2 separate regions of the Homo sapiens genome follow, and region 2 is linked to region 1. The links are contacts of gene promoters, found by promoter capture Hi-C in human tissues and cell types (Jung and others, 2019). All regions are on one chromosome and are shown on one strand. Each heading gives the region's core, a stretch centred on a gene start or on the middle of the fragment in contact. The rest is flanking DNA. Distances are from core to core; before and after follow the strand shown. Region 1 holds the start of YY1 (YY1 transcription factor). Region 2 holds the start of HSP90AA1 (heat shock protein 90 alpha family class A member 1).

Evidence for each region. Contacts are between HindIII fragments. The study calls those that stand out against the background at their distance.
Region 2: a fragment that was not itself captured here is called in contact with the fragment with the promoter of YY1 in region 1 in 1 of the 25 tissues and cell types used here (hippocampus).

What each region holds. Positions count from the first base shown.
Region 1 is chr14:100,235,149-100,241,170 of GRCh38, forward strand. YY1 (YY1 transcription factor) reads left to right here and starts at 3,996. Exons shown (of 5, transcript NM_003403.5): 1 at 3,996-4,775. The coding sequence starts at 4,097. YY1-DT (YY1 divergent transcript) reads right to left here and starts at 3,473. Exons shown (of 2, transcript NR_189150.1): 1 at 3,323-3,473. RefSeq lists enhancers at 3,058-3,910, 4,748-4,907 and silencers at 3,148-3,747, 3,808-3,887, 4,038-4,107, 4,598-4,647, 4,918-5,597. The HindIII fragment of the contact is 4,615 bases long and covers 1,271-5,885 here.
Region 2 is chr14:102,082,876-102,088,533 of GRCh38, forward strand. It overlaps HSP90AA1 (heat shock protein 90 alpha family class A member 1), which reads right to left and starts at 4,169. Exons shown (of 11, transcript NM_005348.4): 1 at 4,111-4,169; 2 at 3,342-3,503; 3 at 2,883-3,249; 4 at 2,423-2,556; 5 at 1,806-2,123; 6 at 1,524-1,689; 7 at 918-1,108; 8 at 671-818; 9 at 159-427. The coding sequence starts at 3,503. RefSeq lists an enhancer at 845-2,044 and silencers at 3,757-4,046, 4,087-4,616, 4,677-4,726. The HindIII fragment of the contact is 5,167 bases long and covers 445-5,611 here.

The sequences.
Region 1 (6,022 bases), core at 2,746-5,245:
GAGGTGAGGAGATGGCAAAGGAGTTGTCAGCTGACAGTCCACATCTTTGTCCTGCTGCTGTGCTGAGAAGGTAGTCAAAGGAATATTACTTGTAGAATATTTGTCACTGCATCTCCTCAGCCATTAGTGAGCTCTGATTTCTTGGAGATTCTAGAAAGCTCTGCACAACTGTTGTGATGTATCTAATATTATTTCTTCTATAGTTGCTGATGTTCAATTTTTTTTTTTTGAGATGGAGTTTTGCTCTTGTTCCCCAGGCTGGAGTGCAATGGCATGATCTCGGCTCACCGCAGTGAGAATCGCTTGAGCCCAGAAGACGGAGGTTGTAGTGACTAAGAAATGGTCAAGCAACATCACACAGAATTCCCCTCTGCCATGGTACTTTAAACTTCACGTTTTTGCATGAATCAAAAAGCAAGTGATCGCCAGGCGCGGTGGCTCACTCCTGTAATCCCAGCATTTTGGGAGGCCGAGGTGGGTGGATCATTTGAGGTCAGGAGTTCAAGACCAGCCTGGCCACCCATGGCAATACCCCATCTCTAATAAAAATACAAAAATTAGCCAGGTGTGGTGGTGCGGGCCTATGGTCCCAGCTACTCGGGAGACTGAGGCAGGAGAATCGCTTGAACCCGGGAGGCGGAGGTTGCAATGAGCCAAGATTGCGCCACCGCACTCCAGTCTGGGTGACAGAGCGAGGCTCCATCTCAAAAAAAAAAAAAAAAAAAAAAAAAGCAAGCTTCACGTACAAGGCATCACTTCATGCACAAGGCACTGAGCTGACAAAGCCATGGCCTTTGCTCAGATAGGGTTGAGAGACAATAATCAATTATTGCCAAAATAAAAGGACTCTAGGAATTCAGAGGGAATCCCAATGCATTTTGTACAAACAGAACAGAATAAAAGTAGGGAGGCTAGGTGCACTCCAGCACTTTGGGAGGCCAAGGCAGGAGACCAGACTGGGCAACAGAGCCCTTAAAACCTCATATCCAAAAAAAAAATTTTTTAATTAGCTGGGCATGTGGTGGGGCACCTGTAGTCCTTAGCTCTTTGGGAGGCTGAGATGGGAGGACTGCTTGAATCCAGAAGTTCAAGGCTGCAGTAAGCTATGATTGTGCCACTGCACTCTAGCCTGGGAGACAAAGCTAGACCCTGCCTCAGAAAAACAAAAACAAAAAAACCCACAGCAGTTAAATTTATCCTCACTTTTATTACTATTTTTTAGAGACAGAGTGTCACTCTGTCACCCAGCCTGGAGTGCAGTGGCGCGATCTCGGCTCGTTGCAACCTCCGCCTCCTGGTTTCCATTAACTCACCTGCCTCAGTCTCCTAAGTAGCTGGGTCTACAGGCGTGCACCACCACGCCCAGCTTATTTTTGTATTTTCAGTAGAGACGGGGTTTCACCATGTTGGCCAGGCTAGTCTGGAACTCCTGACCTCAGGTGATCCACCTACCTCAGCCTCCCAAAGTGCTGGGATTATGGGTGTGAGCCACCACGCCCAGCCTATCCTCACTTTTAGAATCCCATGATTCTGAAACTGCAATTTGACCTGTCCTTTTAAAATAATTTTTACCTTTAGCAAGTGCAAGCAAGCGAGAGCCACACGACACATTATCTTTGCATGTCTAGTCATAAGATACTCCACCGTTAAACAGTAGAAAACAAGAATATCTCCCACTAGAAAAACTTAAGGCCTAACAGGTCACCTCCTATGGGGCAAGTTTAAAAAGCTATTTTCTGGAGCAGGTACTAGGATGGCCTTCAGGAGCATTTTAGTGCTTTCTGACCTACTACCTTTCCTCAAAGCTTTCAATCCTTTTGGGCTTTCTCCACTTGAATGTGAACACCTACAGATCTACAGCTCAGAAACCAGGATGCTTAATGGGTAATTCCCTCATTTCTCTTGCTCTCACAATTGGTGTTTATGGGGAAGTATCAACTACTTGCAGTGCCATTTCCCCATCAATTACTAGAGAGTGGGGAAAGTGAAATTTAAAAAGCATTAAGACATGTAAAAGTTCTCCCACAACTGGTTTCCATTCATGAAATATTTATGCAGAGTTTATAAGCTATAAAGCCAGAGATGACTTAATTCAACAGATTTGACTTTTCCAAACTGAGTGGGTGCAGTACTCCAAGGGGAATTATTCAGGTTTCAAAGCTCAGATTCAAAGAGAAAACGATCTAATTTGTCACTCCTTACACTAATATTCTCAAAAGTCAAGTCCAATGCGATTTAGCAATAAGAAGGGACTAGGATTTATAAAGTTGCCTTTTAATGAGAATGTATAGTCTACTTGTTTTAACAAGTTGAGCCTAAGATTAATGTATTGCGTACAGTTCAGAAAATCATGGGCCTCAACTGCATGAACACTATTACAAAACAGTAAATGTTGATAATATTTAAGTTGAACAAATTCACAGAGGCGTTAAATCGGCCAAACGAGTACAACAAAGACACACCTTTCCAACTCTTCAATTTGTCATAGTTTCCTTAAAAATCAGGAAATCTTTGTTTTGCTTTAAGGCAAATTGTCAGGTCGACCAAAAGGACAGATAAGAGCAGAAACACTTCGCTGCAATGTAACTCATTCAGGAAGGTTTAACTTGCCGCTAATCCGTGCCACAAAAAAAAATCTAGGCTCTGTTGCAGGTACAATGGAGGACACGGCTGAAAAAATTTGGAATTTTAAATGAGACAAATGCAAAACCTGGTGGGCGTAAAAAGGAGCACCTATGAAAGTGACAAATAGGGGGAAAGGGTGGGCAAGGGAAACAATGGCTGACTGGAGAGCAAAGAAGGGGAAGCTCAGGAGAAAATTTTAGAAAGCCGCCAGGACCCTGTAGTTCTAAGATCTACGGGGAAACAGGCACCCAACGGCTGCGTCTCAGGTTTCCGCGGGTCACTAAAGAATAACGGACATCCTCCCAACGGTGGCCCTGGGGCTCCGCGGGCGCTTCCGCCGAGCTCGCGCCGACCCCGCGCTCGGCCCCGCACCCCGCCGGGCGCTCGCGGCGAGATACCGGACGCTGCCCGCGTCGCCCGATTTTGTCCGTTCGGTCCTCCACACTCACCCCGCGGCCATCGCTCGCCCGAAGCCAGGCGACAAGAACAAACACCTCCCGACGCGAAAAAGGAAGCACAGGCGATTCTCGTCAAAGCAGACTTTATTGGGGCGACAGGGCCGCCCCGCACGCGCCAGCCGCTCCCCGCGCGGCCCCCGGGCCGCCCACCCGCCTCAACCCCGCTCCCGGCCGGCCCCTCCCTCCCTTCTCCTCAGGCTCCCGCCCCCGTGGTGCCCGGGGCCGCGCGGACCGCTCACCGGCTCCCAAGGCAGCGGCTGTAGCGGCGACGCCCCGTTCCCGAGTGCGGCCCCGGCCCGAGGCGGCGGGTTTTGTGGCTGTTGCACCGCGAAGGGCGGCAGCCGCGCGACACCGGGAAGCGGGAGGCGGTGGCGGCGGCGGCGGCGCGCTGACGTCACGCGCCGCGGGCCAGCCAGGGCGCGTGCGAGCCGCCCCGCCCCCGGTCCCATCGGCCCCAATCCGGGAGGAGCCCGGCGAGTGGGCGGGGCCGCGGAGGCCAGCGGACAGATCGATTGGCCGAGAGGAGAATCGAGAGGGCGAACGGGCGAGTGGCAGCGAGGCGGGGCGGGCTGAGGCCAGCGCGGAAGTCTCGCGAGGCCGGGCCCGAGCAGAGTGTGGCGGCGGCGGCGAGATCTGGGCTCGGGTTGAGGAGTTGGTATTTGTGTGGAAGGAGGCGGAGGCGCAGGAGGAAGGGGGAAGCGGAGCGCCGGCCCGGAGGGCGGGAGGAGGCGCGGCCAGGGCGGGCGGTTGCGGCGAGGCGAGGCGAGGCGGGGAGCCGAGACGAGCAGCGGCCGAGCGAGCGCGGGCGCGGGCGCACCGAGGCGAGGGAGGCGGGGAAGCCCCGCCGCCGCCGCGGCGCCCGCCCCTTCCCCCGCCGCCCGCCCCCTCTCCCCCCGCCCGCTCGCCGCCTTCCTCCCTCTGCCTTCCTTCCCCACGGCCGGCCGCCTCCTCGCCCGCCCGCCCGCAGCCGAGGAGCCGAGGCCGCCGCGGCCGTGGCGGCGGAGCCCTCAGCCATGGCCTCGGGCGACACCCTCTACATCGCCACGGACGGCTCGGAGATGCCGGCCGAGATCGTGGAGCTGCACGAGATCGAGGTGGAGACCATCCCGGTGGAGACCATCGAGACCACAGTGGTGGGCGAGGAGGAGGAGGAGGACGACGACGACGAGGACGGCGGCGGTGGCGACCACGGCGGCGGGGGCGGCCACGGGCACGCCGGCCACCACCACCACCACCATCACCACCACCACCACCCGCCCATGATCGCTCTGCAGCCGCTGGTCACCGACGACCCGACCCAGGTGCACCACCACCAGGAGGTGATCCTGGTGCAGACGCGCGAGGAGGTGGTGGGCGGCGACGACTCGGACGGGCTGCGCGCCGAGGACGGCTTCGAGGATCAGATTCTCATCCCGGTGCCCGCGCCGGCCGGCGGCGACGACGACTACATTGAACAAACGCTGGTCACCGTGGCGGCGGCCGGCAAGAGCGGCGGCGGCGGCTCGTCGTCGTCGGGAGGCGGCCGCGTCAAGAAGGGCGGCGGCAAGAAGAGCGGCAAGAAGAGTTACCTCAGCGGCGGGGCCGGCGCGGCGGGCGGCGGCGGCGCCGACCCGGGCAACAAGAAGTGGGAGCAGAAGCAGGTGCAGATCAAGACCCTGGAGGGCGAGTTCTCGGTCACCATGTGGTCCTCAGGTGAGCGCCGGCCGCGCGCCCCGGCCCCGGGATGTTTTTGTTTTGAAGGGAAGCCATGTTTTATGTGTGTGATGGGCGCCGCCATCTTCTTCGCCAGGGCAAGTATGGCGGCCCCAAAAGATGGCGGGCCGTGCGGCGGCGGGGGCGCGGCGGCGGCGGCGGGCGGCGGGCCGCGAAGATGGCGGCAGGCCGCGGGGGGGAGGGGCCGGCGCCGCCCGGCTAGGCCGCAATGGCGTAGTTTCTCCGAGAGGGGGAAGCGCCGCGCGGGGCGGAGACGGCCGGGGGAGGGGCCGGCGCGCTCGCTCCCCGACGCCCTCGCTCCCCGCGCCCGCATCAACGGGCGCGCCCGCCGGCCCGTTGTGGCGGCAGCTGCGCGCCCCCGGCCCGGGCGGGACGCGGGAGGTCGTTGGCGGGGCTGCGCCGCGGCCTCGCGGGCCAGGGATTGCTGCCTCCGGGACGCGCGCCCCCGCCCCCGCCCGGCGCTGCCGTTACCCCATCGGCCGCTGGAGGGCGCCGCGGGCGCTTGCCCCGCCCGCCCCCAACTTCCCCGGACTCCCAACTGCTCCCCGGTGGCACCTTCCAGAAGGAGGGGGCTTGGCACTCGTGGGCGCCCTCCGGCCTCCTTGCTCCCCGCCCACCCAGCGCCGGGCTGGACCCTGCCCCGGCGGTCACGCTCGCCCAAGTCGTCGTTTGCTGCGGGGCGGGACTTGGGGCTGCACGTAGGGCTCGCGTGTGCGGGCTCCGAGCGTCAGTCGGAGCCTGTCACCGCCGTTGCCAGCGAATTCCTGGCCTTTTCGCCTTCCTGCGGTACCTAGTGGAAAGGGCCTGTGAATGTTAGCGAATAATTCTTAGTCACTTACGTTTTGGGAAAGCTTTTTTTTTTTCCCTCAAGTATTTAGCTCTTCTGAATAGGTTGGGTTAGTTTACTCAACTGTGGACATTTGCCAGTAAATAAAATCGGGTAGTTTAATTTTAAGCCTTTATGGTTTTTACTTTGTAGAAAGGTATCTATTTTCCCCATGAAAAGAACGATAATAGAAAGCGGGTTTTTTTGAGTTTTGTTTTACTGTTTTAATACTACTTTTAACGAAGGCCTGAAAACCATCTAGAGCAAAAGGATCTTATCTGCCTGTGTAAAATCTGTTTTTACTTCAAAGGCAATTATTAATTCAATGCTGGTTTTTTAGGTCAGTATCCTATTAGTATATTCATATGCTACCTAGCTAAATTGCTGAGATACTAAATAG
Region 2 (5,658 bases), core at 1,778-4,277, 1.8 Mb after region 1:
CCCAAAGTGCTGGGATTGCAGGCGTGAGCCACCGCGCCCAGCCACACACAACATAGTTTTCTGTTTTAAGTTGAAAACATGCGAAAATGGGCTATGTATGACTAAGCTTGAAAGCACCTTAGAAGTATCAATGATCAGGAAATGCTGTATTCACATACCTTTTCAACTTTTTTCTCCAATATGTCTTTCATGATTTTGCAGAGGTTCTCAAACTTTGTTTTTTTCTCTTCCTGCTTCTTTTTCTCTTCTTCATCCTCTGGAAGTTCCAGGCCTTCTTTGGTGACTGACACTAAAGTCTTCCCCTCAAATTCCTTCAGCTGTTGGACACAGTACTCATCAATGGGCTCAATCATATAGATCACTTCTAAGCCATGTTTCCGAAGACGTTCCACAAAGGCTGAGTTAGCTACCTGGTCCTTGGTCTCACCTGAGGTATTACAAAGTTACTTTTAGACCTTTTAACAGTTAAGAATGGTTTCATCTAGCTCTGACTTTTCTTGCTAGCCAGATACCTAGGCAGAACCTAAGACAGAAAATGACCTAGTTCATGTTAATTATCTTGCCTAGATCAATACCAGTTGTAACAGTGCTACCTGAGTAGAAAACACACCCACAGAGCCTACAAGATTGTAAGAACGACGTGTATGACTGTAACATAGTGTTCTCTTACCTGTGATATAATAGATATGTTTCTGGTTCTCCTTCATTCTGGTGCAGTAGTCCTTGAGAGAAACCATCTCATCACCAGAGGCAGATGTGTAGTACCTTAACAGCTCTGAAAGCTTCTTCCGATTTTGAGAGTCTTCGTGTATTCCAAGCTGAAACAAAGTATGTTCTTTACAAAGACTTTCTGAATTAAAAAAAAAAAAAAAAAACTAAAGAGGCCAATTGGAAAACTAATGGTTATTTACACCAACCTTTATGTTTTTAGAGAACTGCTCATAGAATTTCTTGTAGTTCTCTTTATCTTCCGCCAGTTCAGTAAAGAGTTCTAAGCATTTTTTGACCAAATTCTTCCTGATAACTTTCAAAATTTTGCTTTGTTGCAACATCTCACGGGATATGTTTAGAGGGAGATCCTCCGAGTCTACCACCCCTCTAATGAAGTCTGAAAAAAATATAAACCAAATGCACTGAGTCATTCCAAGGACAAAACTGGTACTATGTAAACTCCCAAAATCAAAGATAACCTGAAGATGATGGGACGTATTTTTGAGACAGTCTCACTCTGTTGCCCAGGCTGGAGGGCAGTGGCGCAATCTCCACTCACTGCAACCTCTGCCTCCCGGGGGGGTTCAAGCTGTTTTCATGCCTCAGCCTGCCACTACATGGGGCTAATTTTTGTAATTTAGTAGAGATGGGGTTTCACCATGTTGCCCAGGCTGGTCTTGAACTCCTGACCTCAAGTGATCTGCCCACCCCGGCCTCCCAAAGTGCTAGGATTATAGGTGTGAGCCACCATGCCCACCCAGAAAGTACTTCTTTAATCAGTGACAGTGATTATTTTTCCTATCTATACTTACTCAGATATTCAGGGATTAGCTCCTCACAGTTATCCATGATGAAAACTCTGCGTACATACAATTTGATGTTGTTCTTTTTCTTTCTGTTTTCAAACAGATCAAAAGGAGCACGTCGTGGGACAAATAGAAGGGCTCTGAATTCCAACTGTCCTTCAACTGAAAAATGCTGTAATAAAACAGATACACTAAGTACCAATGAACAATGCATTATAGAAGATATTTGGGGTGGTGGAGAAAGATGATAATCTAAGGACAAGCTTGAAGCACCCATCAGTCACTCACCTTCACTGCCAAGTGATCTTCCCAGTCATTGGTCAAGCTCTTATAGAATTCTCCGTACTCCTCATTAGTAATATCGTCGGGATTTCTGGTCCAGATGGGCTTTGTTTTGTTGAGCTCTTCTTGATCGATGTACTTTTCCTTAATCTTCTTCTTCTTCTTCTTGTCACCATCCTTCTTTTCTTCTTCCTCATCAGAACCAACATCTTCAATTTCAGGTTTGTCTTCCGACTCTTTCTCTTCTTTTTCTTTTTCTTCTTCTTTGTCTTCCTTTTCTTCAGCCTCATCATCGCTTACTTCTTTATCACGTTCCTTCTCCACCTTCAAAAGAAAACACGAAATCACATCACTGCTGCACTCCAGAACTAAGCGACAGCGCTGCACCACTATTTTCAACCTAAGGCCCAAGTCTAAATTAGCCAACTTGAGAAGCACCCAGCTTTTCATCAATATTTGATACATCCACTTAATAGCCCGAGGAACTTTTACAGAGTTAGGTAGTAGAGCTTAGGTTCCCCAGGCTTCAGACTAGTTGAACAGATCTAGGGACTAAGGATGTAGTACAGTCACCCCAATCACCTACAGACAGAAATTCACTCTGCAATTACATAAAAACTTACAAAAAGAGTAATGGGATATCCAATAAACTGAGAATGTTTCTTCACAATCTCCTTTATTCTTCGTTCCTCCAAGTACTCAGTTTGGTCTTCTTTCAGGTGTAGGATAACTTTTGTTCCACGACCCATAGGTTCACCTGCAAGAGAAGAAAGAAAAATTGACTTAATACATTCAATTTAGTGCTCAACGCCATGCCTAACACCCTTATAACGTGTCTATAAAGCAAGGTTTGCCGTTACTACAGATGCAAAGGCCACCACAGCAGAACCTTTTGGGCAAGGTGCCTCGCCCAAAAGAACCGCCCACCAAGTCATGCCATTACACTAATTAAGTGCTCTAGCTTGTTCCTGATCGTTGGGCAAACACAAATTCTGTAAGCTTCACCGCATCCCCAGGGGTCCAAGGGTTGCAGCACCCCACCCTTCCACCGCTCACTTAACCAGTGAATGTTCAGGTGCCTACCTGTGTCTGTCCTCACTGTGAATGATCCCCCTGCTGAGGACTCCCAAGCGTACTGCTCATCATCGTTATGTTTGGTGATCACAGTTACTTTCTCAGCAACCAAATAAGCAGAATAAAAACCAACACCGAACTGGCCAATCATAGAGATATCTGCACCAGCCTGCAAAGCTTCCATGAACGCTTTGGTCCCAGACTTGGCGATAGTACCAAGGTTATTGATCAAGTCAGCCTTGGTCATTCCAATTCCAGTATCCACAATAGTGAGAGTTCGATCTTGTTTGTTCGGTATAAGGTTAATATGCAGCTCTTTCCCAGAGTCTAATTTACTGGGATCTGTCAAGCTTTCATACCGGATTTTGTCCAATGCCTGTTAACAAAAAATATTAATTTAAGCATACAGCACCCCCAAGAAGTTCACACTGAAACCAAAATCCGATTCTGGGTTAATAAGTGACTTACATCTGATGAATTTGAAATGAGCTCTCTCAGAAAGATCTCTTTGTTCGAGTAGAAAGTATTGATGATCAATGACATCAACTGGGCAATTTCTGCCTGAAAGGCGAACGTCTCAACCTCCTCCTCCTCCATCGGTTGGTCTTGGGTCTGGGTTTCCTCAGGCATCTGGAACGACACCGCGCCGGTTTAAAACCTTGCAGGACGTCTACAGAGGCAACACGAAATTCCATCGCGTTCTCCAAATATTTTTAAAGCCGAATTGGAGATTTGCGAAGTTTAAGTAAACCGAAAATAGAAGGGCGGCTGACAAAGGATGACCTCATTTCGGAGCGCGGCAACTACCACGAGCGTGTGCGCGCTTCCGGGAGGCCGCCGCAGGCCCGGGCCCAGTCCCCCGCCGCGGTCCCCAACGAACACCCCGGGTGCCCTCCCGCGCGGGCTGCGGCTCCGCCACGGCGGCCTCCTCCGCCTGCGCCCCCAGCGGGGCCGGGCGGGGGACCCCCGCGGCGGGGCCGCTCTGTTCGCGTGCGGCGCCAGCTCTGGCGCTGCTGCAGAGCCTCGGGGAGCCCGCGGCCGCCCGGCCCATTCCTGAAGCGGGGTGCGGAAACCGCAGCGGTCCCGAGGCCTCCGGAATAGAAAGCGCGGCCGCCCGGGAGCGCGGCCCTGGCTGCTTCAGGGATCTGGTCCGGCCCCCACAGCCTCCGCCCCGCGCCAGCCGCCCCCAGTCCCGGTCCCCAGTCCACCTCCACAGGCCCCCACAACCACCCGTCACCTTGGCTAAGTGACCGCACAGGACCAACGGCACAGCCACACCGGGACGCTGAAGCAACTGACGCGCCACCCCCGCGCCTGCCTTATATAGCGACGGGCCCGCCCAGCGCGCGGCGCTTTTTCCAGAAGCCTCCCGAACCTTCCGGAAGAACCCTCCCCAGCCGCCGCCGCGGCCGCGCGCCTACGCATGCGCCGTTGCCGCGGCACCCCGCCCCCGCGCCTTCCTGCGGGCGCGCGCAGGCCCTGCTCGTGGCCCGGCCCGGGCAACCTTCCCTCAATCGCCGCCGCGCGCCTCTCGCACGCCCCCGCGCCGGCCTCAATGCGCCTGCGCGGCCCGGAATTCTCGGGAAGGTCCGGGCGCCTTCTGGGGCCGCCCGCGCCCTCCGCCCTGCACCCCCACCTGCCGCGGGCGGGCGGAGGGCACGCCCGGGCGTGGGGGCCTTTGAAGTGAGGTGTAGTTGGTCACCCGGGCTGAGCGGAACGCGGGGCCGGGGTGGGAGGCGCGCCTGGAGGGAGGGTCGTGCGTGGACGGAGAGCGGCCCGGGTCTCACGCGCCCGGGAGACTTCCGGAGCCGTCGTCCTGACTGGCGCCGCGCCCGCTGCCAAAGAATCCAGCCGCAAGCGGCGCCGGGATCGCGGGGCTCTGCCCTCTGGGGGCTGTTAGCCTCAGGCTGCTGCGCACTGGGGAGGCTGTCCCGCGGCCTGCGCGCTCGGGGATTCTCCAGACCCACCGCTGGCTCGGGAGCGCTCCCTACTTTTGGGTTCCCCGAAAGCCATGTGCTTCATACTTAAGGGTCCCTTAGCTTGGGAATCGGGGACTTGGTGAACAAATTCATGCTTACCCAGCTACACCCGGCATGATTTTGAAAAGCCCATCGTTTTGCCGACCGATTTGCGGTCTCCAAATTAAGTATCTAACACTTTGGTGATTAACTTGCCCTAAAAGGTTTTTTTTTTTTTTTTTTTCTTTTTTTTTTTTTTGGACAGGCTCTCGCTTTGTCGCCCAGGCTGGGGTGCCGCGGCGGAATCTCGGCTCACTGCAGCCTCGACCCTCCCGGGCTCAGGTGATCCTCCCGCCTCAGCTTTCCCAGTAGCTGGGACGAGCGTGGGCAGAGGACCACAGGCGCGGACACCACACCTGTCTAGTTTTTGTATTTATTTGTAGAGTCGGGGTTTCACCATGTTGCCCAGGCTGGAAAAGCCAGTTTCTACATGGGAATTTTCGGATATTTTGGCCAAGGCCAGCTGTGGGAACCTTGGAGGCATTGGGGTTCCTTCGACCTGGCTTCCCTGCCTAGTCCATGTCCTCTTCCTCTTTGTCTCTGGCGCCTCCCATGATTGGGCCGCCTCCTGCCTAGACTCATAGCCAGGCCCTCGGAATAATCTGAAAGCTCCTTGCCGTGTAAAGAAACGATGGAACTACCTCCGCTTCCTGGTCTTTAGGGAAACGCAACTTGCTCAGGAGCAGGGGTTTTCAGACTGCGGCCTGGGACCCCCTTAAGAGCGTGTGAAATCAACATAAAGCGTCTTGCCTGGCATTACAAAGCGG